2 separate regions of the Homo sapiens genome follow, and region 2 is linked to region 1. Evidence: promoter capture Hi-C in human tissues and cell types (Jung and others, 2019). All regions are on one chromosome and are shown on one strand. The core of a region is centred on a gene start or on the middle of the fragment in contact, and the rest is flanking DNA. Distances in the headings are between cores, read along the strand shown. Region 1 holds the start of CCL13 (C-C motif chemokine ligand 13). Region 2 has its middle 240 kb from the start of ASIC2-AS1.

Evidence for each region. Contacts are between HindIII fragments. The study calls those that stand out against the background at their distance.
Region 2: a contact is called between a fragment that was not itself captured here and the fragment with the promoter of CCL13 in region 1, in 1 of the 25 tissues and cell types used here (dorsolateral prefrontal cortex).

Annotation. Positions count from the first base shown.
Region 1 is chr17:34,355,130-34,357,830 of GRCh38, forward strand. It overlaps CCL13 (C-C motif chemokine ligand 13), which reads left to right and starts at 1,351. Exons shown (of 3, transcript NM_005408.3): 1 at 1,351-1,473; 2 at 2,346-2,460. The coding sequence starts at 1,398. The HindIII fragment of the contact is 2,821 bases long and covers 424-2,701 here.
Region 2 is chr17:33,795,808-33,798,585 of GRCh38, forward strand. It overlaps a transcript of ASIC2 not described here. Among named protein-coding and RNA genes, the nearest start is that of ASIC2-AS1, 240 kb to the left of the region's middle. The HindIII fragment of the contact is 3,291 bases long and covers 1-2,778 here.

The DNA.
Region 1 (2,701 bases), core at 101-2,600:
TGGTGCAATCTTGGCTCACTGTAACCTCGGCCTCCCAGGTTCAAGCAATTCTCCTGCCTCAGCCTCCCAAGTAGCTGGGATTACAGGCATGTGCCACCATGCCTGGGTAATTTTTGTATTTTTTTTAGTAAAGACAGGGTTTTACCATGTTGTCCAGGCTGCTCTAGAACTCTTGACCTCAAGTGATCCCCCCGCCTCAGCCCCTTTTTTCTTTTTTTTTTCATTTTCAGTTCAGGAGAGTTTTAGCTTAATTATAGGCTACAGAACCAGCTTTGGGCTTCATCTATCCTTTCTAATATTTACTGTTTCCTATTTCTCTAATCCTAGCTCTTTATTTCTTCCCTTTACTTTCACTGGGCTTATTTTGCTATAGTGGAATGCAGAGGGATGAGTATTCCAGGAAGGCACAAAAACTGTGCCAAGTCTTGGAGCTAGGGATGAGTGGGAAAGGGACATGTTCAACCATTTTAAGCCATTCCCTCCCCACCTCCCAGCTCCCAGATATGTGCCCCTCGCAGGAGGAGCCCAGGAATGGGCCAAACACCTCACTTCTTTGCTCTGAGGGCCACCCCAGCCCTCCCATCAACAGCTCTAGAAACCCAATGGTCCTTCCTGGAAACACGGGGCCTGCATCAATCAGAGGTGTTTGAACCATGTCCCTCTGGGCCTGAGGGGCAGAAGGGGACACAATATGTAATGTAAGGAGCCCCTGTCATCAGAAATCTGACTTAATCTGTTTCAGATATTAGACTTCCACATAAAAGTTGACTTGGAAAAAGACTTCTGCTGCTAAACAAAAGTTGAAACTGCCTTGGTGATAAAATATAAGCAGACCAGCTTTCTCTTCTAGCTTTCCCTCTCATTTCCCATAAGATTTTGGTCAAGTTATTTAATCTCTCTGCATCCGTTTCCTCTTCTATGAAATGGGCATGATAATAATGGTATGTACCTCCTCAAACTAAATATATAACGTGAACAGAGTCCTTAGCACAGCACTCTTTCTCTACAGGAGTTAATTTTCATTGTTTTTCTCTTTCCTGTTGGAGAAAGTAAGAAGAAAACAGCTCCTTTATGGCTTCCCATGGTGAATGGCTGGGGCGCGTCTGTGTCCCTTTCTCCTCTCTGGCTCCTTGTGGCCTGAACAGCCAGAAGGAAGCCATGCCATGCTGTTTCAGCCCTCAGCTTCCCTCTTGCATTTCCTAGAAAAGTCTTTGGTGCCCAGCTCCAGCTCAGCAGATTCAGGATCCCCCTTCATCATGACTTGGTCAACGCCCTGCTCAGGCCAAGGTCCTCTGAGAGTTCCAAGCTTCTCCACTCCCTATAAAAGGCCGGCGGAACAGCCAGAGGAGCAGAGAGGCAAAGAAACATTGTGAAATCTCCAACTCTTAACCTTCAACATGAAAGTCTCTGCAGTGCTTCTGTGCCTGCTGCTCATGACAGCAGCTTTCAACCCCCAGGGACTTGCTCAGCCAGGTAAGTCACCTCCCTTCGACTCTCCCTCTCTTTCCCTCTGTTTCTCTATTCAAGGAAGACCTAAGCCCGAGTGCTCCTCCACTTTTTTTTTAGATTGAGTCTCATTATGTTGCCCAGGCTGAAGTGCAGGGGTGCGATCTTGGCTCATTGCAACCTTCACCTCCCAGGTTCAAGCGATTCTCTTGCCTCAGCCTTCTGAGTAGCTGTGATTACAGGCACCCGCCATCACGTGCAGCTAATTTTTGTATTTTTAGTAGAGAAGGGGTTTCACTATGTTGGCCAGGCTGGTCTCAAACTCTTGACCTCAAGTGATCCTCCCGTCTCGGCCTCCCAAAGTGCTGGGATTACAGGCGTGAGCCACCAGGCCCAGCCAAGTGCCCCACTTCTAAGCCCACCAGAATAGTAAGGCTCCTCAGAGGTTCACTTTAACATCTAATTTTAAAGATAGAAAGCTGAAGCCCATGTTGGAGGCAGAAGGGACCCTAGCCATCCACCTCCAGGTTATTGCAGAGCAAGAATGAAACCTAAGCTTCTGACTCCAGATTTAGGGCCTTTTCTTTGACCTCATCTGATCGTCCCAAACTCTGCAGATCTGGGACCACACCCAGGACCTTTCCCACTGGCCTTGCCCGTGGCCTCCCCTAGATGGCTGTGACATGTCTCCACCATGCAGCTGAGCCTTTGAGATCCTGAGGCACATGTCACAGGTCCCACCTCACCTCAGGGTCTAGGGTGGGAGTGCTGGGCTTGGGGGTGAGTAAGATCTATTTCTTCCTCTTTGCTTTGCATCCCATACAGATGCTCCCTGCTGTATTCAAGCTGAGAAAAGCCTAACACATCCTCAAAGTCTTTTTCTTTGTAACTATTTCTAGATGCACTCAACGTCCCATCTACTTGCTGCTTCACATTTAGCAGTAAGAAGATCTCCTTGCAGAGGCTGAAGAGCTATGTGATCACCACCAGCAGGTGTCCCCAGAAGGCTGTCATGTGGGTAGAAAAATCCCTGCTCACCTGGCTCCTCCCCACTCCCACATTCCCCAATCCAAAGTTCTGCCCCAGGAGACAGACGTCAGACTGACTTGAGATCTTAGGATGAGATCTAGCCAGACTGTGTGATGCAAATCCTCCAATTTTGGCTGCACAACAGGTCCAAAGAGGACCTATAATTTCCCACACCTTGTTTCCTGGATGGGCACCAGCCCACACCCTTTAGCAGATGCCAGGATCA
Region 2 (2,778 bases), core at 222-2,721, 560 kb before region 1:
CCTGCAATCAGTAGCACTTCAATGGGAGCAAACTCCCTGGGGCCAGAACTTATCCAGGTAGCTGGAAGACCAACTCTTCCCCTTGAAGTTAAACAACAACAAAAAAAGAGGTCTGAGTTGAGCACATGGCAGAAATTCATGAATACTTGTTGAATCTGGGAGAATTCCAGTAGATTATCAACACTGTTAAGATGAGGCTTTGTGAGAGGTTGACTGCATATGCCTTTACTGTAAATCTCCATGACTGTGAGGGCATTTTCCACTTAATAGGCCAAGTGCCACAATCACAGTGGCTTCTTCTTGCCCTTGGTTTAGAAAACCATAATTGTGTCGGAGGACAGACTCCCCCACCTTCCTTGTAGACCACCAATGTGTTTAGTACATACTTTGAGAAAATTCTCAGTTGAGTTCAAGGCTCTGTGCTCCCTGGGAAACATGGAATACACACCAGAGTGCCACAGAATGGAAAACACATAATGCTAAGCACATCTGGGTCAGATCCCAAATCTAGTATCTGCCAGTTTGTGTCCTTGAACAAGTCATTTTGCTCCTCAGGATTCTTGTTTGCTTATTGATAAAAATAAGGCTAATTCTTAACTTCCAAGGATTTTGTTGGAATTAGAAATAATATTACATGCTTAATAGCAGGTTGGATCTCAAAGCTAGTTATTATTAGTAGTAATAATAATACCTAGATAATACTGATATTACAAAGGAAATGAACATTAGCTAGCCTGTATAATGTAAAGGCTAAAACTGTAGTGAACACTGACTCTATATCATGGTCAACTTTAAATATTATGTAACAACAGACACTCACACATACATTTCCAAGATCCATCTGATACTTGAAAATGATGCTGCCAGAAACGCTCTTTCCCTTTAGTCATTGGCCTTCACTCATAGCCTGGCCTATGCTTGCCTTGAATGACAAGTATGAAGTGAGGGAAAAAGGTATTTCTGCCATACAGAGAAACTTGGGGCTGGTAGGAGATTAAGGGATGGGAACCCTGAGCTCCAGGCTTGGCTCACTCATGTACTAAAGGTGTGATCTTGTGCAAATCATTTAATCTATTGAGTCTCAGTTTCCTCCTTCATTTATTTATTCATTCAACCAACATTTATTATACATAGAGACTCAAGTATGGTGTCTCCCTTATGCAAGAACCATGCAGTAGGTGAGCTGGAAGTAAGCAAAGTGGAAATGCTGACATGTTCAGTGCATGTTATGGGGCATGCAGATCCAGGTGAGAGCCATGAGAGTGGAGCCTTTTCTCTCTCACTCAGTGCCATAGTTTCACCCCTGACGCAGTGCCCAGTACATCAATATGTTCAACAAACAAATGAAGATGAAATTCTGCTGCATAGATCAGGGAAAGTTTTAGAGTGAAGGTAACACTTGAGCTGGGTCTTACATGATGAGCAAGAAGAGGTTAGAAAGAGACAGTAGGAGTGGACCCTCCAGGCAGAAGTAGAGCTGTGCAAAGTCCTGGAGCTGAGACAAACCTCTGAGATGTCAGGGAAACGTCTGGCATGACTAGCGAGGAGTGTGCACAGGGAAGAATGAAATCCCTTGGCGGCACTGTGAGAATGAAATGAGTTAGTAATGCAGAATGGCTGGGGGAAATAGGTTAGGCGGTATTATTGCATCCTGCTACCTTGATGTATAAATGTTATATATTTATCTTATAATTGTTGTTGTCATTACTTTAGATTTCAGTCTAATTTTGTTGGTCCATGATTGATCATTAGTAAATAAATATGCATGTTGATGTGAAGCTTGGCTCTGTGTACAGCATTATTGATGGGTTCATTCACTGGTCCAACAGATATTTTATTCTGATAAATGTTAATTGCTGCTCAGAGTGCCTGACCAAGGTAATTTGCTGAAGCGTGAGTTTGCGCTTCCCTGGTTCTATTTGTCTGCAGACAGAAGGCTGTTTGGAGGACTGAAATGTGGGCATGTTCCGCGTTTGTACTCTTGGCCTTTGGGGACACTGCTCAGTGCTTGCAGCAGGGAAGGAGGTGGGGTTTCTCAATCACACCTGAGTGCTTCTTCCTACAACTTCAGCATCCTATGGCTTCCTCCTTCTCATCACTCACAGGACTAGCCCCCACACATAGGCTGGCTCAGCTGTACAGAGCCTGGCGAGAGAGGGATCATCGCAGTGTGCAAAGGAGGAAGTGGGGAGAGGTGATGGCAGAGGTGGCAGCTGAGGAGAGAGGGCTCTAAGGAGCAGATGGGAAACAGGATGGGAAAAGGAGATGCAGCTTTCATCAGTGCCGGAGGGAAGAAAATGAAGTGGGAAAAGGATGAGAGAAACTAAAGGACTAGCGAGATGAGGAGGTAAAGGGAGAGAAGTAGGTATTGGAACAAAAATTGAAAAGGGCAAGAAAGTTGGGGCAGGAGGAGGAAGTAGGAAAGGGAGACAAATGGGATGAGATAATTGTATAGAAAGATTCCTTAGAGCAGGTGTTTATGCAGAGATTCTGGGCTCAGGAAGCTTTGCTGCGTGGAAGGGTAGAGAATGTCTAAGACCACTAGCTTGCCAGCCTCCACTGATTCCCCAAAGTGAGGAGGTGTCAGGTGTCAAAATATTCAGTGGTGACGCATGAATTAGCAGAGATCAATTTGTGTTTAAGAAATCTTGATGGAACAGCCCAAAGCACAGATCAAAGCCATCAAGCGAATGAGACTGTTCATCCAATTAGCACAAATCCAGCACCTGGCTCTGTGGAGCGCAGCAGCTCTCAGGCTGGCATCTTGATGGGGAGTAG